6 separate regions of the Homo sapiens genome follow, and all the other regions are linked to region 4. Evidence: promoter capture Hi-C in human tissues and cell types (Jung and others, 2019). All regions are on one chromosome and are shown on one strand. Each heading gives the region's core, a stretch centred on a gene start or on the middle of the fragment in contact. The rest is flanking DNA. Distances are from core to core; before and after follow the strand shown. Region 1 overlaps FBXL13 (F-box and leucine rich repeat protein 13). Region 2 overlaps NAPEPLD (N-acyl phosphatidylethanolamine phospholipase D). Region 3 overlaps ARMC10 (armadillo repeat containing 10). Region 4 holds the start of FAM185A (family with sequence similarity 185 member A). Region 5 overlaps FBXL13 (F-box and leucine rich repeat protein 13). Region 6 overlaps NAPEPLD (N-acyl phosphatidylethanolamine phospholipase D).

Region 1 (3,793 bases), core at 365-2,864, 300 kb before region 4:
TGGAAAGCTGAGTCTTCCCTCTATCAATGAGTAAAGGTTTTTGCCTTTAAAAAATTTTTTGAGTCATCATTTTGGCTAAGTGAGTGACTTACAGTGACCTGGAATTCTAGTTCATAATATCAAGTGTTTTAAAACTTTATATATATATCTTTATATTTAATAGGCTTCCCAAAATTAAATTTCAGCTTTAAAATGGTCTTTTCTGACCTCTAACTTTGGAACGCTACAGAGGGCCCCTGAAGCATCCAAAAGAGAGGTAAACAGAATTATTTAACATGTTAAGTTACATGGGAAGCATTGTCAAAATAAAAATAATGTTTAATCTTCAGGTTATATTTTAGTGAATGATATTAATGTATGTTCTAAAATTGTATGGGGCCAGGCACAGTGGCTCATGCCTGTAATCCCAACACTTTGGGAGACCGAGGAAGGCAGATCACCTGAGGCTAGGAGTTTGAGACCAGCCCGGCTAACATGGTGAAACCCCGTCCCTACTAAAGGTACAAAAAGTTAGATAGGCATGGTGGCGGGTGCCTGTAAGCCCAGCTACTTGGGAGGCTGAGGTGGAAGAATCACTTGAACCCAGGAGGCGGAGGTTGCAGTGAGGCAAGATCGTGCCTCTGCACTCCAGCCTGGGTGACAGAGCAAGACTCCATCTCAAAAACAAACAAAAAAAAATGTATAGGACTTATAAAATTCTAATATGTCTGAGTATATACTGTCAACCATAATTATAGTTATTATGTTAAGTTATTGTATATCACAGAAATAACCAAACTTCCTTGTATAGAACTGCTAACCCAAGTAAAACAAAAAATTAATTAAATACCAAGAAAATACTTTGCCAAGATTTTCATGTTAAACCAGCCGATAGTGAAATTGATTAGATATACAATTTGAATTCCATAGTCTAAGTCTCATTACCTGTGATAACCATTAGTTATCAGTGCTATGAATTTAAATTGGAGAAACAACTGGTATTCAACAGGACATAAGTCCAATATTAAGCATAGACTCATGGAAGACCAGGAAGGCTATCTTGTCCTTCCTGAGCCCTTAAAGCTTTTGTTATTAAAGGCTCTGCATTCCATGACTCATCATGGAAAAGATAAAATCATCCAAATTGAATATATTGATATAATGACTTATACATTTCAAAAATAGTTTAAAACCAATGTTTGGTTCCATATTCCTGGGAAGACAATCAAACCTTCATGTACGCTTGGCTATCAGGTACGTTTGGCTATCCGATGGGTCATTTAAACATTTATAAAGGGAGTTCATTCAACTGTCATTTTTAATGCATGTTTTATGCTACAGTAATTATTACGCCACAGTATATTTTCACCAGGTAAAGAAAGTTTTTATGGTTCACCGAGGATAATCAACTGCTTCACAGTCTAGAACCTAAAGACTGGATCTTTTGAGAACATCAGAGAAAGACTGTGCTTGCCATCCACACTGCAACAAAACTTTGGAACCTTGAACTTTAAGTTCATAATCTCACAACTGAGAAGGGTCCCTCCACACTATTGGAACTGTACACCCATTGGAACCCTTAAGGTAAAACTAACCAGGAAAGTTTCTCCCCAGAATAAGATGGCATCCTTGATGTAAACAGCTTTTCCCGAGATCACAGATCAAGACATCTACTATTGTGAGACTCTTATCTTTGAATATTTTTTCCTTATTTATGCCTCTGTAGCCAATAGAAATGATGAGGGGGTCTATTATGTGCACTTATAGGGTATACTTTTATTCGTGAAGGATTTTGCACCAGCCTTATACATGAATAACTTTATACTTTGATGGATAAAAGATGAAGGCCCAACATAGGTGAGAAACTTTAATGGTATATATGTCGCCTCATAATCAGTCAAAACTCCTCTTAGCCCACATCATGGGTTAAATAGAACATTGCCAGGAGGCCTTCACTCTTCTAGAAGGACATCATTTGTTAGGTCCTTTTTCCATGGTTTAGAATAAAAGAGGCAATAATTAGAAATGTATCCCTCATGATAGGCTGTATAGCAGATTCTAATGTAAAGCCTATTGTTACACAACAGACTTTAAATTCTCTTGTGAAAGTTATGCTAAATAATATAATTGGCTAAACAGAAAAGTACCTGTGCAGCTTCTGACACTTGTGGCCTATGGAGAAATACATCAAACGTAGATTATAAAAATTCAGTTGTAGATGATTAATGAAAAGACCACTTAAAGCAAGTAGACTCTTTATCCAGCTCATTCTTTAATCTATTTAATTTTAGGTGGTTCGGTTTATGGGTACCCTGGGTAAGGAGCATACTCTAAACTCTTGGTATTATCCTCCTGAGAGTCATAATAATAGTCTCCCTGGTGCACTGTATTCTCTCGAAGGTTTTAAATCTTGCATGCAGCCACCTCTAGAATGTCAAATGGTCTCTCTTCAAATGGAAAGACGAGCTGAAAGAAATGTGCGACCATGAGATTACTATAACCTATGAATGACGTGGTGAGACTGGAAACCCAAAATGATGGTAACTGAGAGTGGCACTAAGGCCCTAAGTTTTGGTCACACTTTCACCTAAGTGAGAACCTGACCAAAAAGGGGGGAATCTTTTTTAAACAAAGTTGTGGGAGGCCACTGTTTTGGACTAAGCTCATTCACTAGGCCCCAACAGGCCAAACCAAACTAAAATGGGGTCACTTATGCTAAATGTGACATAATCAAACTAAGACTTTACGGAAACACATAGATCCTAGAACAGACCAGGTTTTGTTTTTCTCCTGTAAATAGGACATTCCAGCATAAAGAGGTACCCATAAAGGGTCCCTCTACTCATACTTGTTTTTACCTTTGCAAAACTCAATGTTCTACTGTTTCCCAGTATGTTTCAAGACCAAATAAGTACTTTTACAATGGTGATAGTGACATTGATAATTAAAGTTTTGGTCAATCTCTCAAAATTGAGAAAATGACCAAAAGGGGGAAGTTGTTAAAGTGAACTAAATGTGGCCTGAGAAGGATTCCCTGTTTCTATATTTGAGTCTTTGTGGACGAACTGCAACCTAGCTTAATAGATAGACAAGATTGAAAACCTAACTAGGAGTATGCACGTGTATCAATAGCTGAGTCTTGGCCAATCCCAGCAGCCATACTTCAACCATTCATACACTGCTGAGTGTTCAAACTGTGTTCAAATAAGGCAAACACCAATCTGTAACCAGTCCAGCTGTTGTGTACCTCACTTCCAATTTCTGCACATCATTTCCCTTTTTGTGTCTATTAATCTTCTTCCACCATGTGGCTGCACTGGAGTCTCTCTGAATCTGCTGTGATTCTGGGGGCTGCCCAATTCACAAATTATTCATTGCTCAATTAAATTCCTTTACATTTAATTCGGCTGAAGTTTTTCTTTTATCATTGCCTATTTATAAAGGATAAATATGTCTCTACTTAAAGACGAGTGAATACAGGAAACTGTGAGTAAGCCAAATAGTAAAGAAAAAGTAGGAACTGCTCTCATAATAGTAGAAGGAAAGACAATTTCATTGTTTCAAGCATTCCAAGATGAAAGAATCAACCATTGTAAGGAGGAAATGAACTTCACAGACTTGGTTCTCATTTCTTAGGAAATGAAATCTCCAGATGGGCCTTCTAACTACAAGAGAAAGCATATATAAAATTTAAAAAATCTTTTTATTATGGAAACATTTTAATATAACACAGAAGTAGAAGGAATACCATAATGATCACTCATCATCTAACTTGAACAATAATCAGCATTTTGCCAATCTTGTTAATTTATTC
Region 2 (4,051 bases), core at 1,552-4,051, 370 kb before region 4:
AGGCTTCACATATTTAAAATGCATAATTTAATGAGTTTTGACATATGTATATACCCACGAAAAGATCACCACAATCAAGACAATGAACATATATATTATCCCCAAAAGTTTCCTTGTGTCCTTTTGAAATTCATACCCCCTTATTCTCCCAACCTGGACCCCAGGCTGTTACTTTTTACGAAAACATGTTAGTAAATGAGATTTAATGAGAGGAAGTATGGTTTACTACAGTGGGTCTGGCTGGGTGACCTTGCCTGAGTGCTGTAACTTCCCTAATTCATTGTATTCTTAGCTGTAGAATGGAGCTGGTTTATAGGACCTACTTCCAGTGTTGTGGTCGTAGCCAGTAGCAGTTAGTACAGTGTCTAGCACATAATAAGCACTTCATAAATGGTAGCTGTTGTTAATAGTATTTTGTTTTGTGTTATGCTAAAGTACTTGATACATTAGGTAGTTCATCATCATTATGTGCCCAATATGATGCCAAGTACGAGTACTTAGTAGGTACTCAGTTTATATTCATTCCCTCTCCCTTTCCTCATTAATTCTGGATAAGTATACCTCTTGGCATATGTCATTGTTCACTAACCCTAACTCCCAAATTTAAGAACTGATTGAAAGTTGACATTCATTCATTTACTCATCCATTCAACAAATTTTGTTGAGCACATGCTGTGTTTCATTAATCAAACTGAGCACTGAATGATTCCACCTTTCATAAGACATGGGACAAATTCTGTGTACACATAACCAGAATATCCAGAGGAGATGTGTGAATAGGGAGATATGGAAGTTGAGAGGCAGGAGTAAGTGCTTCTAGCTGTGGGACTCAAGAGATGGCCCGAAGGGATAAGGGGGAAGATAATTTAACCTGAGAAATGGGATGAGTACCGTGCAGGGTTCTTGAGCTCAGTCTAGGAGTAGGAAGCAGTCTCCATGTAGGTGGGACACAGCACATGTGGAAGAGGAGCATGAAACGCCCGAGAGAATTGGGGCAGTCCCTGGGCAGCTCACTGCTGGGCTGAGGAGGTGAGACAGACTTTGTCAGGCAGTAGAGAGCCAGTGGAGATTTTGCAGCAGAGGAGACTTAAGTTATACCTTAAGTTGGCTGTTTTTGAGGTGGCTCTTGTGCATGGATTGAGTTGACAGGCAGATAGTTGAGCAATCTGGAGAGCTTTGAATGTCTGAATATTTCTTAGCATCTTAACTAGGTTAGTAGCTCCACGGAAATGCAAAAGATTGGTAACATTGGTGCCTGGTTTGTTGTCAGGGTTGGAACTTTCTTGCTTTTTCTTTTGGACTACTTGTAGAGTGCTTATTATGTCCCAGCCACTCGTAATTCTATCCTCACAGGAATGAAGCATAGGTACAATTATTACACCTGTTTTCCAGATGAGGAAACTAAAGGTTTAAGTGGCTAAGAGAAACCTTTTTGTCCTCCACCTGTGCTGCTCCTTCTCTTCCTGTCCAGGCCTTCTTCCCATTCAGACTCACTCTCTCATTGACCTCTCAGTTTCCCTTCACCAGCATCTCCCCATCTGCCCTCTTTTGTCTGTGTCTACCGGTGTATCCTTTGCTCAGGTCCTCATCTCTTCATATCTTGGCAACTGTTGTGACACTCTCCATGCCATCATTTGGACTCTAGAATTGTTTTATCTAAACATAATTGGGTCATGTCTGTGTGTATGTGTGTGTGCACATGCATGCATGTGTACGTGTGTGTGTGCACGTGTGAGGGCAAAAAGATACCTCCTAGGCCTGGCGTGGTGGCTCACACCTGTAATCCTAGCACTTTGGGAAGCAGATCGCTTCAGCCCAGGAGTTCGACGCCAGCTTGGGCAACATGGTAAAACCCACCCTGTCTCTACAAAAAAAAAAAAAAAGATGCTTCCTCATTGTCTTAGAGTGAAGCATGACACTCAAGGCTCTTAATGTGTTCCCATCTTTATAGATTTAGTTTGTCCCCTGCCCTCAAACACCACATTCCTGTTTGGCTCTGTACCTTTGCTTGGGTGGTTTCTCTACTTGAAATGCCCTTCTTCCTTTTCTCTGCATCATGAGTTTCTCATCATTCTTCAGGAACTCACACAAGTCACTGTGTCTGTGATGCCTTTGGCAACTGGGCTCTTCATTCCTTCTTATCAGGCTATAACATGACCTGTATTTTAACTACTTATCCAGTACCACACCCTTTCAAAGTTGATTTAGTGGCAACTTACAAACATACATAAAGCAGTAAAAAAAGAATTGGATGAGGTATAGAATTACTATACCTAGCCAGTCTAGGAGCAAAATGGACTATTAGACTAGAAAAATAAAATAAAGCCAAGAATAAAGTTAATATAGAAATATGTTCCATCATGTGCTGCACGTTGCTGCAGGTGGCCTCAGCTTTTCCTCTGAACTTCCTAAAGAGAGAAGTATCATGAAATCTTAAGAGTTTTCCCAGTGACAGAAATGACAAAGCCAGGTGCTCTGGAGAAGAATTTTTCCTGAAACGAGATGGGAGGGAAATGTTTCTGGGGTAAGTAGGAAGGTGGAGGTGGTACCAAGTCTGCAGCCTGAACACATACATGGTGAGTTTCATGAGGTGGCTTCCTATGAGAGACCTCCATGCAGCTATATAGCATGGTACCAGAGCACAATTCAGTAAAAGAGCTTTATAAAAGCCAGGACTGTGATGCTGCAACCTTACCACTTTTTGTTGGCCTAGCTTAATCCAAGTATAAAATGTAGAATAACCAAGGGATAATACTCTTCACGCTTTGTTATAGTTATTGTTTTATATCCATTTACGGCCCCCCTTATCTCAGTGATCAGCTTCTCACAGGAAGGGATCATATTCACGTTGGTTTGATTAATGGTAGAAAATCAGAAAGGTAAGGAATGAGGAAAACAATTTATGACTGTGATTTGTCCAGGAATCATCACAGCGCTCCATTTTGAATTATAGGTACTCAGAAAGTGAGATTCAGGCCAGGCACAGTGGCTCACGCCTATAATACCAGCACTTTGGGAGGGCAAGACAGGATGATTGCTTGAGCCCAGGAGTTCAAGATCAATCTGGGCAACATAATGAGACCCTGTCTCTACAAAAAATAAAAAATTAGCTGGATATGGTGGTGCTGTGTGCCTGTGATCCCAGCTGAGAGGTTGAGGTGGGATGATCACTTGACCCTGGGGGGTTGTGGCTGTAGAGAGCTGTGATTATGCCACTGCACCCCAGCCTGGGTAACAGAGCGAGAGCCTGTCTCAGACAAAAAAAAAAAAAAAAAAAAAAAAAAGAAAAATATCAGATTCATGATTCATGTCTGAGAGCCAAGAGCTACAAATAAATGGTCATAAGCTTTCTTTACTATTTCCAGGGACTGACCTGCTTTTAAGGCAGTTTTTAGCAGCAAATACATCAGCTGAGTAGAATGGCAATAGAAAAATGACTGCATCTAGGCCAGTCTACTTCTGGCAGTACTGAAGAGAGCCTTTAAAAAATTGATACATTTAGCAGCACTCAAAGTTTTAAATTTAATTTTCTCTTTTGCATTTGGGAGGAAGAAGATTACCATATTATCATGATTATTAAGTCAGATTCAGAAAGAAGTATGCATTTTCAAGAAAAAAGCAAAAGTGTAGCAAGTTTATTGAATGACTTTAGTTCTCTTAAAACAGCTCTTCTTGCCATTATTTAGGTCAAAATGTGGACTATGATGATATAATACTTTTTTTTCTAACTACTCTTTTGTCTTGCTTTCTTTATACACAAAGGAACTAGACAAAGAACTCCCAGTGCTTAAGCCATATTTTATCACTAACCCTGAAGAAGCTGGAGTGAGGGAAGCTGGCTTAAGAGTCACATGGCTGGGACATGCCACGGTAATGGTGGAAATGGATGAGCTCATATTTCTCACGGATCCCATCTTTAGCTCTCGTGCTTCACCATCGCAGTACATGGGTCCAAAGCGATTTCGTCGTTCCCCGTGCACAATAAGTGAACTCCCTCCAATAGATGCGGTCCTTATCAGTCACAACCACTATGACCATCTGGACTACAATT
Region 3 (4,124 bases), core at 364-2,863, 340 kb before region 4:
CATTACTCATCTTTTTGTTATTTTTTATTTATAGAAAACCTTATACATTTGTGATTTTCAGTCAACTTACCTTTATCTTGATTTGATTTTCAACATTCACACTCAGGTTATTTAGTGCATTTAAAGCTTTCTCTTTAATACTCTGGTTGGAATGGTTGATTTTGTTTGCAACAATTGGAATACCACCCAATTCACGAATAATAGCCTACGAGGGGAAAAAAAAAAAAAAAGCAGGACTGGGACTTCAGTATGCATCTCCGTTCACTGAATTCTTTGCATCCACAAATACAATTAAAAATCAACGGCTTTTTGGAAATCTCTTTCCCATATACAAATATTTAATTCATATTTTAAAAAAATCTCACTACCCATACTTTTATAGGTAAAGAAAATCCATTGAAAATAAGATTATTAAGATATATAATTATTTAAACTACAATGTTGAGAAATACAATAAAAATTTATAGAGATACTATAACGATCTTGAAGCAACTTACAAATAAAATTATTTTTCTTTGAGATGAGTTATATGACTTCTCCATTATAGGCAAAACTGGAAAAGTGTTATAATTTAGAATACTAAAGTTAGTGTTTTGGATTTAGAATACTAAAGTAGTGTTTTGCTAACACGTATTATTTGAAACACTAATCCCTCAAAATGTTAAGAGATGTTCCATAAAAATAAGGGGGGGTGGTTTCCCATGGTTATCTAAGTTTAGGAAAATCTGAGTATAACAAGAGTAAGCATGTTTCTTTAATATGTCCATGTGCATTGGGAATCTTGAAGAGGGGTGTGTTGACGATAGTATGTCTATGAACTAAACACAAAAAAAGGGTCATTTTTTCAGCAGTGGAAGTGGTGGGAACGCACTGATATCTTGCAGAATCAGGTTCCACACAGTTTGAAAAATGGTACCCAGGGCCAGGCGCAGTGGCTCACACCTGTAATCCCAGCACTTTGGGAGGCCGAGATGAGTGGAACACTTGAGGTGAGGAGGTAGAGACCAGCCTGGCCAACATGGTGAAACCCCATCTCTACTAAAAATACAAAAATTAGCCAGGCGTGGTGGCCAGTGCCTGTAATCCCAGCTACTGGGGAGGTTAAGGCAGGAGAATCGCTTGAACCTGGGAGGAGGTTACAGTGAGTTGAGACTGCACCACTGCACTCCAGCCCGTGCAACAGAGTGAGACTCTGCCACAAAAAAAAGAAAAAAAAAAAAAAAAAAAAGAAGAGAAATGGTACCCAAATATTCAGAGGGAAAATAATCTGGGATGTCTTACAGTTGGTTGCAATACTATGTTACCATGTGCTTTTGGCTCAAACATTGAAAGAATTAAATCGCTTTAATTCTCGTAAGAAAAATATGCTAAAAATTATTCTTGTCAAGTGAAGACATGCTATTCTAGCAGGAAAAAAGAAAAAGACTGCCAAAATCTACTTCTTAGAAATAGCTCAATACTCCATTTTACCGTTAAGGGTGATCTTAGCATTAAAAGAGAAATAAACTTTCCCTTTACAATTTCAAGTTCTTTCGAAGGACTTGCAGTTACTAGAAAAGTTTTTTTTTTTTTTAACTGTATTGTTAAAGCAGATTAAGGTACTATAATTGATGGTGAGGGCACTGACCCCCGCTGCTCAAGAAAGTACTTCTTCTCCAGTGGGTACTGGCCTACTCTGACTACAACTTATTTTAGAGGAATACAAAATTATGCCATCAGAAATACTTCTTTAAAGGCAGGCTAACACATTAATCACTAGCTATTGTTTTTGCTTGTCTAGTGGCTCTCTTTCCACGGGGGCAGATGTGGCATCTCCTCTGTCCCACACGGTCCCTGCTGGGATTGTTGTTCACTTGTATTCACAGCCATCCCTGCTACTTAGCTGCAGGATGCTCATGTGAACCAGGCCTCAATAAACATGGGCCATGGTCCCTCGACTGATCCAGAAATTGCCCCGGAGATTGATCCAAAGGGTTAACACTGGATCCTAGAAGAACAACTGTACCTTTTGGATAATGAGCTACAGAGATGAAGGCTTAGAGAGGCTAGTGGCTTTCTTTCAACCCTGGTGAAGAAAACCACTTTGTGGCCAGAAAGATAAAGACCAATACATAAAATTGAGCGGCCATAAGCAAAGCCAAAAGGTAGAGAAAGAGAGAACTCTGGGAACTCTGCAACCTTGAACTGGACTCAGTTGTGCCTGAAATCAATGCTATTCTTCGCTGTCCAAGTTAGCTGAGCTCAATATTTTCCCTTTTAGGCTTAAAATAATTTAAAGTGAATTCTGTCATTTATAACTGAAAGAGTACATAATGCACAAAGATTCTCTATCTCCCTATACGTTTATAGAGCTTTACAGTAAACCTTGCCATTCTGGAGAAAGCTGGGCTAAAAAAAACTATAAATTCAAAATAATTTTGTACTTATGACAATGTTAACAAAGGGCATTGGCTGAAAACAATTACGAAATTTTGTTTTAACTATTTTTTCATGCTGGAGGGTTGTGAGGAAGAGTAGGAAGAAGCACATGTTCAAATTAAGCTCTTTAGTCTTAGTGTTAAGTCTCCATTTGCAGGAGCCATTTACATTGATTAGTGGTTATCAGAGTGTGGTCCAGGGACCATCAGCATCAGAATCATATTCATAAGACCGATATACAATTTAAAGTATGTACTTAAATGTTAGATGCATTCATTGTTTTACTGAAGCACTGCTGAATTTTAAATAATTTAAAAGGCCATGAAATGGTAAACGTTGATTAGATATACTTACGAATGTGATGCCAGTGACCAACTTCATAGGGATCTATAATCACATTAATAATCATATCACTATTAGGCTGTGTTTTTCAGAAGTAAACAAACATTATGTTTTAAGTATAAGTAGCCACATTGCACAGATGAGGAAATTGAGGGTCTGAGAGGTTAAGTAATTTATTCAGGGTCACAATTACCGCTAGTGTGTAAGAATGGAAAGAGCTTGCTTGCTGAGTTGAGGTACTTACTTGGTTAACTGAAAAGGCTGCATTGTTACCCAAAGTAATCAAAGCTCTTTCAATAATTACAGGATCCTCCGTTGACTCCAGCAGGTAAAGGAGTTTCTGAAGTTGTTCAGCATTTAGAACATCATCATATGAACCATCAGTTAAGTCTTCTGCATAAGAAGAAAGTTATTTGAAGTTAAGCTAAAATCAATACGAGGTTATTTTTGAAACAGGCTCTCACTCTGTCACCCAGGCTGGTGTGCGGTGGCACAATCATGGCTCACTACAACCTTGATCTCCTGGGCTCAAGTGATCTTCCTGCCTCAGCCTCCCAAGTAGGTAGGACCTGTGGTCCTAGCACATGCACCACACCCGGCTAATTTTAAACATTTTTTGTACAGATGGGGGTCTCACTATGTTGCCCAGGCTGGTCTCAAACTTCTAACCTCAAGCAGTCCTCCTGCCTTGGCCTCCCAAAGTGGTGGGATAATAGTATGAGCCACTGTGCCCAGCCTGTTTTTTTAAAATTTTTAAAACAATATCGAATACATACTTGTATGGCAGGCACAGTATTAAGCACTTTACATCCTTAGGAAGAAGATACTTGTAGTACTCTCAAATTACAGCTGGGAAGTGTAGGCTTATAGATACCAAGAAATTAGTCAATGGTCACCTGGCATATGGCTGTTAGTAAGACACTTCATGCAAATACTATATACCTCAAATGCTGATAACATTTTGCTTCTCCTTTTAAAAACGAGGTACACCCATCCAATGAACACTTACCTATAAAGAGATTAATTAGGAAATATGATTTGCATTAAGCAGATCTTTTCTGAGCACATCAGATAGAAGGAAAGCTATGAGAGTAAACCAATCTTGTTGCTAGTGTGGCATTTTTGTTTGATTTATACAAGGCATGATGACTAGGATCCTAGAATAATAGTCCTGCTGGTGGTGATGACAAAAGAAAACCTGACATTTTGAAGAAGAGCTAGGATAGCCAAATGCTGGATCTGCTCAATGATGTTTAAACTTATGGCTTTACCTTAAAAAAAATCCTCTTTACAGAAATCACCACAGGAAGAACAGAAGCCATTTTATAACACTCTTACTGGGGTGGTGGGGGGAGGGGCAAGGG
Region 4 (4,024 bases), core at 1,391-3,890:
AGCATTTTAACCTAGAAACCCAACTCCTCAGTTATGTCCGTAATATTGCTGAATCCTGGAAAGTGCATACTGTAAAGGTAAGGGGTCTTCTACCACAGCAACGGGACCAAAAACAATAGCCTTTCTGCCCGTTTTTAGAAACAGAGCAGTTATTTCTACTGGCCTAAATCACCTAAAGAGAACTAACATAGATGGGAAGTAAAGGAGACTACGATTCTGTTAAGTACTCCTGTGAAAGACTGTAGAAGCCTCTTCCCCAGTATATATGATCATGACTTAGGTTTTCAAATCCTATGTCTAACCTTTCATACTTAAAAAATGAAAATATTACCATGCAACTATATCACAGGTATTTGAAGTAATTTTTTAAAAATGGGAACAACTTTGAAAAAGCTAATATATACTATTAAAACTACAAGATTAGGCCATGAGCAGTGGCTCATGCCTGTAATACCAGCACTTTGGGAGGCCGAGGAAGGAGGATTGCTTGAAGCCCAGGAGTTCAAGACCAGCCTGGACAATGTAGCAAAACTCCATTTCTACAAAAAAACAAAAACATTAGCCGGGCATGGTAGCATGCACCTGTAGTCCCAGCTACTCAGGAGGTGGAGGCGAGAAGATTGCTTAAAACCGTGAAGTCAAGACTGCAGTGGGCCATGATTGTGCACCTGTACTCCAGCCTGCGTGGCAGAGTGAGTGAGATGCAGTCTCAAAAAAAACCAAAACAAACAAACAAAAAACCCCACAAGATTGTGGACAAATGGCAGTGGTATATGAAGCAAGTTTGGAAAATAAGGAATTACAAATGCCATCCTTGGCTGTCTATTTAAGATGTAACTGCAGGCATCTCTGTATACAAATTTTAAAAATTAAAAACGCTGATATTTAATTTGGAATTAACATAAATATTGATGATTTCTCTTAAAGTAGGCAAGACCCGCCCCCCCACTTGATTCCTGAAACCACAAATAGTACCAAATCCTATATATTCTATGTTTTTTCCTGTATACATATCAATGATCAAGTTTAATTTATAAACTAGGCATAGTAAGAGATGAACAATAATAACAAATACAGCAATTATAACAATATACTGTAATAAAAGTTATATTACTGTGATCTGTCAAAATATCTTAATATTTTCCTACAACAGCTGAGGCAGGTAACAAACTGAGACAGCCAAACGGTGGATAAGGGAGGACTACGGCATCTACTATTTGGGCAACTCTAAGCATTATAAAAGATGATCTTAAAAATGCTAAATGCTATTATTATTACTATCATCATCATCATCAATATCTTCCATCAGTCCCAGGAAGAATGACAGTCTGGGGAGCCCTTCCTAGAAAAGTGTGTGTACACAGTGGCTTGCCATTTAGGAAAAGCTAAGAAAGGTATCTTGCAGGCATTATTATTGAAGCTTCCTAGGCAGGCTTACCATGTGTTTTTCTTCAAAGCTTGCTACTCATGGAAAACTTAGGCCAAAAAGAATGGAAATATAACAGTAAGAAGCTGGGCGCCCGTCTAAAACCAAATACTCAAACCAGGTGATACCCGGAACATCCTATTGACAGGGCTGTTTTGGGACAGACCCCCAGGCTGTGAGCAAGATGAAATGTAGATGGACTGCCATACCATTGAATGAATTGTCAAGAAACTTCAACCTTGAAAAATAAGCCAGTTTGCTAATGACAACGGGATAAAGGAGAACACAAGCGGCTCCAGAAATAGAATTTGACCTGGATTATACCAAATCATGTTTCCATTCGATGTATAAAATTTCTATAATTGGGAACCTAATTTTTAAATACTACTCGGACACTCAAGAACAGAACAGAGGAAAAGGTGCATTTCCGAAGGGGCCAACTGTAAATTAGGTTTAGAGAGCCAGGACCAATTAAAAGTGCACGTCGACCACATTTATTAAGTTCACTGTGCGTTCCCTGGGACCCAAACCCGTTTTCACTTCACTTCACTTGCCAAACTTCAGGGGCGCGTTCACCTCCACGGACGCCTGGGGGTGGATAGTATCAGACACAATGGCCATCTCCTCCAGATCCTCGTCGTACTTCACCTGCAGGCCGTCCAGGCCCCGCACGCCGCCCTCCACGCCGCACACCGCGACCAGCACGCGGTCGCCATCCGGGTAGGTGAGGGGGTCCAGGGGCCTCACGGCCAGGTGGCACGGGAGCCGCGCCCGCAGCCGACCAAACGGGCTCACCTGCAGTGTCCACTCCTTCAGAGTTCGGCGCCCCGGGCCAGGCGGAGGGACCTCAGTCTCCGATCCGGGCCAGCGCTCGCTCCCACCTGAGCTGTACGGCCTGGCTTGGCAAGCCCAGCAAGCCCAGCGCCCAGCGCCAGCCCACAGTCGGACCTGACGGAGACAGAGACGGAAGCAGCCAAGCTCCCAACCTGAGCAGGGGGCAAGCATGGCGCGCCTCTCTCGCCAGTCCTCAGAACACTTCAGCCACAGGGAGGGTCACTTGCCACGGCCAATCGACTTGGCCACTGTGCCGCCTCAAGTCAAATAGGAGACGTAAGTCAGGGTTTGCTGAAACAAGAGCGAGCCGGTTGGCTTGACTAGGCGTTCTAAACATCAGCCGCGCAATCCCCAGGGGCAAGTTGGGATTTGAAAGCTCTAAACTCTGACCTGGACCCCTTGCCTAAGTCCACCCCCTTTCGCTAAGGCCGACGGGATAGGTAGTTCTAAGTCGCAGAGCTCTGCCTCTTAGAAACCACATTTCCCAGGAGGCAATGCGCAGGGGAGCACGGGTAAGAGGGTAGGTGTTAGAATCGCTGGAAAGGCGGGCGCCCTTTGTCTCAAGACCATTGGCTATTGGAGGGGCGGTACATGGGAGTCCACTGGCCAATGGGAAGCACGGAAGGGGCAACGCGGGTAAAGCTGCGTGGTCACCTTGGATACCAAGCACGCGACTTCTTGGTTGGAGAGGGTGGAGCTTTGGAGTGAGACCCAGGACGCCAAATCCCAAAGAGAAAAATAGGAGCCTAAATAAGGATCAGGACCAAGGGAAGGGGTAAGAAACTGCGCTTTTTAAGATGACAACTAGGTGCAAACTAGGAGTAACCTCTGTGGATGTCAACATCCAAGCTTCACTAACTTAGTGAGGGCATCTCCAGGGCATGGAGAATGCCTTGGTAAGAAAGTAAAGAGCAAGATTGGTGCTTTTTGAGGGAATTGCCTCTTTGGAAGTGTATTCCCTCCTATATTCCAAATATAGGAATAGAGTACTTGCTCCGTCCTGACCCTAAGTGACCTTACTTTGGGTTTTAATTTGCTCACTTTAAAAATGTAGATAATAATACCTTCCTTGCCTTGCCTCAAAGGGTTTTTGTAAGGATCAAGTAAGAAAATGGATGGGACCGTGGTGCACAGTCTACAAAATTACCGTGTAAAGAACTGTATTTTTATTTCAACGTACTTAACATTGATTCTGAGTTACCAAGAAAATTATGAGAGATCAGAACTTGTTTTGAGAATAGCATTGATCTCTTTGACTACAAATGATCCTCAGTTTTAGAGTGAAAAAAAAAAAAAAGACACAAAAAAGAGAGTCACCATGGTGCGGTGGAAAGAGCAGGGACAAGGGTCAGGTTATTTTCCTGGCTCTGCCACTGCTTCATCTGTGTCACCTAGACCTGTTTCTTTAGTTTTAAAATGAAGAAAGATGGTTCTAAATGACCCTATAAGGGGTGTGTGTGTGTGTGTGTGTGTGTGTGTGTGTGTGTTTACCTTTTATAATTCTATAGGCAGTAAAATAATGGGAACAGAAAGATTTATTTTCTTCTTTTTTCTTTTTTTCTTCTTTCCTGCCTGGTTTCTCTCTCCCCCTCTGTGCCCCTACTTCCTCCTAAAATGTATTCCCTAAATTATTTAGCCAAGACACCTGCAAACACTAACATTTCATAAAATGCAAGTGCCTTAAAAAATAGAAGCCCTTACCCAAGTACAATGACCAGAATTCTTGGGGCTATCGTGATAGATAGACTGGGCTAAAGTTCTCAT
Region 5 (4,136 bases), core at 240-2,739, 270 kb before region 4:
TTTTGGGCTGAGACGATGGGGTTTTCTAAATATACAATCATGTCATCTGGTCATCTGCAAACAGGGACAATTTGACTTCCTCTTTTCTTAATTGAATACCCTTTATTTCTTTCTCTTGCCTGATTGCCCTGGCCAGAACTTCCAACGCTATGTTGAATCGGAGTGGTGAGAGAGGACATCCTTGTCTTGTGCTAGTTTTCAAAGGGAATGCTTCCAGTTTTTGCTCATTCATTATGATATTGGCTGTGGGTTTGTCATAAATAGCTCTTATTATTTTTAGGTACGTCCCATCAATAACTAATTTATAGAGAATTTTTAGCACGAAGGGTTGTTGAATTTTGTCAAAGGCCTTTTCTGTATCTATTGAGATAATCATGTGGTTTTTGCCTTTGGTTCTGTTTATATGCTGGACTATGTTTATTGATTTGCATATGTTGAACCAGCCTTGCATCCCAGGGATGAAGCCCACTTGATCATGGTGGATAAGCTTTTTGATATGCTGCTGGATTCGGTTTGCCAGTATTTTATTGAGGATTTTTGCATGGATATTCATCAGGGATATTGATCTAAAGTTCTCTTTTTTTGTTGTGTCTCTGCCAGGCTTTCGTATCAGGATGATGCTGGCCTCATAAAATGAGTTAGGGGTTGTTCCCTCTTTTTCTGTTGATTGGAATAGTTTCAGAAGGAATGGTACCAGCTCCTCCTTGTACCTCTGGTAGAATTCGGCTGTGAATCTATCTGGTCCTGGCCTTTTCTTTGGTTGGTAGGCTTTTAATTATTGCCTCAGTTTCAGAGCCTGTTATTGGTCTATTCAGGGATTCAACATCTTCTGGTTTAGTCTTGGGAGGGTGTATGTGTCCAGGAATTTATCCATTTCTTCTAGATTTTCTAGTTTATTTGCATAGAGGTGTTTATAGTATTCTCTGATGGTAGTTTGTATTTCTGTGGGATCAGTGGTGATAACCCTTTTATCATTTTTTATTGTGTCTATTTGATTCTTCCCTCTTTTCTTCTTTATGAGTCTTGCTATCCGTCTGTCAATTTTGTTAGTCTTTTCAAAAAACCAGCTCCTGGATTCATTGATTTTTTGAAGGGATTTTTGTGTCTCTATCTCCTTCAGTTCTGCTCTGATCTTAGTTATTTCTTGCCTTCTGCTAGCTTTTGAATATGTTTGCTCTTGCTTTTCTAGTTCTTTTAATTGTGATGTTAGGGTGTCAATTTTAGATCTTTCCTGCTTTCTCTTGTGGGCATTTAGTGCTATAAATTTCCCTCTACTCACTGCTTTAAATGTGTCCCAGACATTCCGGTATGTTGTCTCTTTGTTCTCATTGGTTTCAAAGAACATCTTTGTTTCTGCCTTCATTTCATTATGTACCCAGTAGTCATTCAGAAGCAGGTTATTCAGTTTCCATGTAGTTGAGCGGTTTTGAGTGAGTTTCTTAATCCTGAGTTCTAGTTTGATTGCACTGTGGTCTGAGAGACAGTTTGTTATAATTTCTGTTCTTTTACATTTCCTGAGGAGTGCTTTACTTCCAACTATGTGATCAATTTTGGAATAAGTGCTATGTGGTGCTGCGAAGAATGTATATTCTGTTGATTTGGGGTGGAGAGTTCTGTAGATGTGTATTAGGTCTGCTTGGTGCAGAGCTGAGTTCAATTCCTGGATATCCTTGTTAACTTTCTGTCTCGATCTGTCTAATGTTGACAGTGGGGTGTTAAAGTCTCCCATTATTATTGTGTGGGAGTCTAAGTCTCTTTGTAGGTCTCTAAGGACTTGCTTTATGAATCTGGGTGCTCCTGTATTGGATGCATACATATTTAGTATAGTTATCTCTTCTTGTTGAATTGATCCCTTGACCATTATGTAATGGCCTTCTTTGTCTCTTTTGATCTTCGTTGGTTTAAAGTCTGTTTTATCAGAGACTAGGATTGCAACCCTTGCTTGTTTTTTTGTTTTCCATTTGCTTGGTAGATCTTCCTCCATCCCTTTATTTTGAGCCTATGTGTGCCTCTGCATGTGAAATTGGTTTCCTGAATACAGCACACTGATGGGTCTTGAGTCTTTATCCAATTTGCCAGTCTGTGTCTTTTAATTGGAGCATTTAGCCCATTTACATTTAAGGTTAATATGTTATGTGTGAATTTGATCCTGTCATTATGATGTTAGCTGGTTATTTTGCTCATTAGTTGATGCAGTTTCTTTCTAACATCGATGGTTTTTCCAATTTGGCATGTTTTTGCAGTGGCTGGTACCGGTTGTTCCTTTCCGTGTTTAGTGCTTCCTTCAGGAGCTCTTGTAAGGCAGGCCTAGTGGTGACAAAATCTCTCAGTATTTGCTTGTCTGTAAAGGATTTTATTTCTCCTTCACTTATGAAGCTTAGTTTGGCTGGATATGAAATTCTGGGTTGAAAATTCTTTTCTTTAAGAATTTTGAATATTGGCCCCCACTCTCTTCTGGCTTGTAGAATTTCTGCCAAGAGATCCGCTGTTATTCTGATGGGATTCCCTTTGTGGGTAACCTGACCTTTCTTTCTGGCTGCCCTTAACATTTTTTCCTTCATTTCAACTTTGGTGAATCTGACAATTATGTGTCTTGGAGTTGCTCTTCTCGAGGAGTATCTTTGTGGCGTTCTCGGTATTTCCTGAATTTGAATGTTGGCCTGCCTTGCTAGATTGGGGAAGTTCTCCTGGATAATATCCCAAAGAGTGTTTTCCAACTTGATTCTTCTCCCTGTCACTTTCAGGTACACCAATCAGAACTAGGTTTGGTCTTTTCACATAATCCCATATTTCTTGGAGGCTTTGTTCATTTCTTTTTACTCTTTTTTTTCTCTAAACTTGTCTTCTCACTTCATTTCATTCATTTGATCTTCAATCACTGATACCCTTTCTTCCACTTGATGGAATCAGCTACTGAAGCTTATGCATGTGTCACATATTTCTCGTGTCATGGTTTTAAGCTCCATCAGATCATTTAAGGACTTCTCTACACTAGTTATTCTAGTTAGCTATTCATCTAATCTTTTTTCAAGGTTTTTAGCGTCTTTACGATGGGTTCGAACTTCCTCTTTAGCTTGGAGAAGTTTGATCGTCTGAAGCCTTCTTCTCTCAACTTGTCAAAGTCATTCTCCATCTAGCTTTGTTCTGTTCCTGGCGAGGAGCTGCATTCCTTTGGAGGGGGAGAGGTGCTCTGATTTTTAGAATTTTCAGCTTTTCTGCTCTGTTTTTTCCCCGTCTTTGTGGTTTTATCTGCCTTTGGTCTTTGATGATGGTGACGTACAGATGGGGTTTTTGTATGGATGTCCTTTCTGTTTGTTAATTTTCCTTCTGACAGTCAGGACCCTCAGCTGCAGGTCTGTTGGAGTTTGCTGGAGGTCCACTCCAGACACTGTTTGCCTGGGTATCACCAGCAGAGGCTGCAGAACAGCAAATATTGCTGAACAGCAAATGTTTCTGCCTGATCATTCCTCTGGAAGCTTCGTCTCAGAGGGGTACCCAGCCGTGTGAAGTGTCAGTCTGCCTCTACTGGGAGATGCCTCCCAGTTAGGCTACTCGGAGGTCAGGGACCCACTTGACGAGGCAGTCTGTCTGTTCTCAGATCTCAAACTCCATGCTGGGAGAACCACTACTCTCTTCAAAGCTGTCAGACAGGGACGTTTAAGTCTGCAGAGGTTTCTGCTGCCTTTTGTTCGGCTATGCCCTGCCCCTAGAGGTGGAGTCTACAGAGGCAGGTAGGCCTCCTGGAGCTGTGGTGGGCTCTACCCAGTTCGAGCTTCCAGGCCACTTTGTTTACCTACTCAAGCCTCAGCAATGGCGGGCGCCCCTCCCCCAGTCTCACTGCCGCCTTGCAGTTTGATCTCAGACTGCTGTGCGAGCAATGAGGGAGGCTCCATGGGTGTGGGACCCTCCGAGCCAGGCGCGGGATATAATCTCCTGGTGTGCCATTTACTAAGACCGTTGGAAAAGCACAGTATTAGGGTGGGAGTGACCCGATTTTCCAGGTGCCGTCTGTCACCCCTTCCCTTGGCTAGGAAAGGGAATTCCCTGACCCCTTATGCTTCCCGGGTGAGACCATGCCTTGCCCTGCTTCGGCTCTCGCTCGGTGGGCTGCACCAACTGTCCGACAAGCCCCAGTG
Region 6 (4,114 bases), core at 1-2,500, 350 kb before region 4:
CAGTAAAGGGTGACTCCCATTTAGCAATTCCTCAGGGCAAAATCTTGACTCCTCTTTGCCACACAGAGCTCAACCTTCATATTCTCTGGGATCCTCTTTCATTCTGTAGACTGTGGTTTCTGTATGTGACTAGACTTTTTGAGGATAACAACCCTTCTTCAGCAAAACAATTTGCTCTAGCATTTGGTTACACACACACACACACCACAATTTGATTTCTATATTTTTCAAAAATGTTAGTAACATGTAATTCTCTAATAACATCATCTTTGGCACTGATTCCATCTAGATTGGAATTTCATATGGTGAAACCGTGATGATTTCATGCAATCCAGTGATGTTCAAAGTAAGATGGCACCAAATTTCACATACATGGTGTTGGCATGATTTCTATCCAACCAAATACCTGTTGACTTAATTCATGACTCAAAACTGTATTAGAAAATGTGATAGACCCATTTGCTAATGCTTCAATTAAAAGAAAGGGCCTAATTCTAACTAGGCATCTGTTGGTTATTTTAGTTTGAACTGTTATTTGGAAAATCTCCCAAATATATGTTTAATCTTTTTCTATTTTTCTTCTTTCTCTTTGGCCAGCATTACTTAGAGCCTCCAGTGAAGCTGAATGAAGCTCTAGAGAGATACGGACTTAACGCTGAAGATTTTTTTGTCTTGAAGCATGGAGAATCAAGATACCTAAATAATGATGATGAAAACTTTTAATAAATGTGAGCACAGGCACTTTTAATGAAAAAGGCATCATCTAAGTTTAAAAACAAATGAAAAGACTTAGAAATTCATGAATATTGTGATTATTTTACATTTGGAAACAACTTCTGCAAGTTTATGTTTTATGTTTTGTGTAATAACTTGCTTCCTAGTATGATCAGCTCATGTACACTATGAGAGGGTTCAGGGGTGGGTCATTTAAATAATGAATTGGCTAATGTGGATTTTAAATTTCATATCATGATATAAGCACTGCAATGGAAATGTTTTTACTAAAACATTATATTTTTGTGGTACTAGAATTTCCTGAGGTGAAAAACCGATATTGAAGATTCATTTTTCTTTTTTCCATTCTTCAGGACCTTCGGCAAGGTGAGTCAAGGCTCTCTACCTACCTAGATGTTTTTCAGAGGCCTACAAATACAAGTATCTTTCTTATATGCACATTCTAATAAATGATGAAATTCAGTCCAACATGCTTATTATAAACATAGCAATTCTTGCTCTATCAAATTAGCTTATATGCCAAATATTAAATATGGTTTATTTAGGTAAGCATAAAAACATAGGGGCTATCATTTTTAAAGACTTGATTTTCTCTATTGTGGTAAAATATATAAATACATATTTGCCATTTTAAACATTTACCATTTTAACCATTTTTAAGTGTACAGTTCTTTCGCATTAATGCACCCATGACCACCATTCACTTAAATTTTTAAAAGAACAGTATATTCTTTTTTTCCTAGAGCCTTCAGATGAGAGGGAACAGTATATTCTATTGCACGTCTACAATTCCCAAAAGACCTCTTACTTTGGGAGGCCAAGGTGGGTGGGTCACTTGAACCCAGGAGTTTGACATCAACCTGGGCAACATGGTGACCTCCCGTCTCTCTCGGAAAAAAAAAAAGAAAAAAGAAAAAGCCGGGTGAGGTGGTGTGTACCTGTAGTCACAGGTACTTGGGAGGCTGAGGTGGGAGGATCACTTGAGCCCAGGAGATAGAGGCTGCAGTGAGCTGTGATCGTACCACTGCACTCCAGCCTGGGCGACAAAATGAGACCCTGTCTCAAAAGAAAGCCCTCTCCTTAGCTGAGCAGAGGAAGGGAAGGAGTGTGGCTATGAGAATATGATTTATGCCATTTTCTGTTTTTAAATCTAGAAGATCTTCTAAGCACAAATACAGCTACAATGAAATATTTTACAGACAAAATGTTAATAGACCATATTCTTTGAATTAAATTTGTTTTTAATTTTCTCTACACATTTTTTTTTTCCTGGAGTCTCTTAGCTCTAAATATATCAATCAGATTTATAATTTTTTTTACCTGATTCAGATGTCTTACATTTTTATATTAAATGAACCTTAAGCATGATTCTTTTGGTAAGCCAGTATGAATGCCAGTGGTTGGGGGGCGGGGGGGGAGTCAGTTGACATAAGATTTAGTCCTAATAAGGACTCTGTATTCACTTGATTATTCTGACCCTTCCTAAGGGAGGGAGGTGGATTAGATACCACTGGAGGCCCATTCTGTATTCCTAATCCAGTCTCAGCACTTTATTCATACAAAATAATCAAAATAGGTTTTCTACACCAAATGCTACCCAGGCAGTGCTCTATAATTTATTTGCACACCTGTATGTGTGGTGCCACGTTAGCCACTAAATCTGAACTTTTACCCTGCTTTCATCATGGATTTTTTTGTGTAACCTGAAACAAGTCACCAGTGCTCACTGTGCCTGTTTCCTCATTTGCAACAAGAGGATAATTCCGACCTACCTCTGAAAAATGTGTAGATTAAATGAGTTTTTAAAGCACTTTAGAAAATATAAGGGAGAAAATGATTTCTTAAGATATCACTGCCTAATATAGACAGGTATATTTGAAAGCTAAATACAGGTTAATGCTTTTGATAATGTATTGTTCCTGTTGCAAATTTAAGCATTATATATTAGGAGACTAAACATTGAAAACTTTCACTGATTTTTAAATTGGAGTAATAGCCTAAATAAGTGTAAATAATCTTTATCAAAATTTAGTGTTTATCTACAAAGATGCGAATCAGTCAAGGGGAAATGTGTATGCAATGTGTGTGTATATGATGTATGCGAACATATGTGATTTTGGGGTACTAAAGCACAAAAAAATCCCCCATAAAATAAACCTTCCTGAAAAGACTGATCATAAACTTTTTCACTCCAAGCAGATGTGAATCAAGATGTTAGGTTTATGGTGAGTTAGCTTTGAGGTGTGTTGCCCTAATACTAGCCAGCGTTGTTGTAGCCATATTCCCTGCTGCTGCACGCCGAATTGAAAATCCATCTCTTACCTCTTCTCTATGAAGCAAGCCAGGTATGTCTTGCTTAAGTATTTCTTCTCCATGAATGGCCTTAACATTATTTTGTATTCACGTGTACTGTTTAACTGAGGGTCTCAAAGCACTTTAAACTGTTGTGTTCTATTTCCACTCGTCTGGCCTGCCTCATTTTTCTAGGCCCTTTTGTAAGCTGTAATTTTTTATTACCACTCATGTTCTTTCTACACTGACACTATTCATTAAGAACATCAAGCTTCATCTCTGCTTACAGAATCTCACCTTATTGAGTGGGTTCCACTTTATTTTTCATTTGTTATCTACATTTTGAAGGGTTTATGTGCAAAGTGAAAACAAATTTTGAAAAATAAGACAAATCCATTCTCTTCTTCAATTCAGTCTAATATGCATTGTAGTGTCTTTTAATCAGTCTTATCCTCTAAGTCAACTTCATTTTCCTCTTCGTGAATACCCATAGCAATATGTAAGATTTTATTGAAGTTTCCTGTGATAACTGAGGAATACTTTGCTATGCCTCACTGCCCAATAGGGTGGGTCATCAATTAGGAGAAATCCCAAATTATAAAAGCCAACATATGCCGTGACCTACGTAGGAAAAGATGTATTTGTGCATCTTCTTTCTGGGTAGTTAAAAATTACTCCCTCTTTTCTCTAGCATTTTGACATTTCAGACTCAATGCTCTGATCTCTAGGGAGTGTGATTATTCAAACTAATGAGAGGACAAGAAGACACAGTTTTAGAATCTACTGCTGCTAAAGCACATTAAAAACAAATCCTGGTTTTTAATGTATGCATAGTTTCATATTTAATGAATATGCTTTCATTAAATAGGGAGGTAGATTTGAAAAAACCGTTATAAAGAAATGTGCCTTTTGGGGAATGAATACTTTTGTTCATGTCTAGCCCACTGGGAATTTTGTTTTCACCTTATACTGAGTCCTTTTTCTAATGTAAAAATATTTCTTCCAAGTTTGATTTCTGTATCAGGGTAACATTGAGAACACACATATTTCTGTTTGAGGATTTGTGACTTCCTATGGAAACAGTCTT

What was found. The method cuts DNA at HindIII sites, captures the fragments that hold promoters and counts their contacts. A contact is called where the count stands out against the background at its distance.
Region 1: a contact is called between a fragment that was not itself captured here and the fragment with the promoter of FAM185A in region 4, in 7 of the 25 tissues and cell types used here (H1 embryonic stem cells, IMR-90 fibroblasts, bladder and 4 more).
Region 2: a contact is called between a fragment that was not itself captured here and the fragment with the promoter of FAM185A in region 4, in 3 of the 25 tissues and cell types used here (hippocampus, mesendoderm cells and thymus).
Region 3: a fragment that was not itself captured here is called in contact with the fragment with the promoter of FAM185A in region 4 in 7 of the 25 tissues and cell types used here (H1 embryonic stem cells, IMR-90 fibroblasts, dorsolateral prefrontal cortex and 4 more).
Region 5: a fragment that was not itself captured here is called in contact with the fragment with the promoter of FAM185A in region 4 in 5 of the 25 tissues and cell types used here (IMR-90 fibroblasts, mesenchymal stem cells, mesendoderm cells and 2 more).
Region 6: a fragment that was not itself captured here is called in contact with the fragment with the promoter of FAM185A in region 4 in 7 of the 25 tissues and cell types used here (H1 embryonic stem cells, dorsolateral prefrontal cortex, hippocampus and 4 more).

What each region holds. Positions count from the first base shown.
Region 1 is chr7:103,044,579-103,048,371 of GRCh38, reverse strand. All of the region lies in intron 3 of FBXL13 (F-box and leucine rich repeat protein 13), which reads left to right. Among named protein-coding and RNA genes, the nearest start is that of FBXL13, 28 kb to the left of the region's middle. The HindIII fragment of the contact is 4,592 bases long and covers 1-3,793 here.
Region 2 is chr7:103,119,935-103,123,985 of GRCh38, reverse strand. It overlaps NAPEPLD (N-acyl phosphatidylethanolamine phospholipase D), which reads left to right. Exons shown (of 5, transcript NM_001122838.3): 3 at 3,763-4,051. Among named protein-coding and RNA genes, the nearest start is that of NAPEPLD, 27 kb to the left of the region's middle. The HindIII fragment of the contact is 6,917 bases long and covers 1-4,051 here.
Region 3 is chr7:103,082,711-103,086,834 of GRCh38, reverse strand. It overlaps ARMC10 (armadillo repeat containing 10), which reads right to left. Exons shown (of 7, transcript NM_031905.5): 3 at 3,005-3,153; 4 at 71-205. Among named protein-coding and RNA genes, the nearest start is that of ARMC10, 9.6 kb to the right of the region's middle. The HindIII fragment of the contact is 7,401 bases long and covers 1-4,124 here.
Region 4 is chr7:102,747,615-102,751,638 of GRCh38, reverse strand. FAM185A (family with sequence similarity 185 member A) reads right to left here and starts at 2,640. Exons shown (of 8, transcript NM_001145268.2): 1 at 1,981-2,640. The coding sequence starts at 2,431. It also overlaps the pseudogene RASA4DP. RefSeq lists silencers at 2,651-2,820, 2,861-2,950 and an enhancer at 2,623-2,917. The HindIII fragment of the contact is 9,642 bases long and covers 1-4,024 here.
Region 5 is chr7:103,016,467-103,020,602 of GRCh38, reverse strand. The region is part of intron 7 of FBXL13 (F-box and leucine rich repeat protein 13); the gene reads left to right. Among named protein-coding and RNA genes, the nearest start is that of NFE4, 45 kb to the right of the region's middle. The HindIII fragment of the contact is 6,114 bases long and covers 1-4,136 here.
Region 6 is chr7:103,100,038-103,104,151 of GRCh38, reverse strand. It overlaps NAPEPLD (N-acyl phosphatidylethanolamine phospholipase D), which reads left to right. Exons shown (of 5, transcript NM_001122838.3): 5 at 598-4,114. The coding sequence ends at 723. Among named protein-coding and RNA genes, the nearest start is that of ARMC10, 27 kb to the right of the region's middle. The HindIII fragment of the contact is 4,955 bases long and covers 1-3,727 here.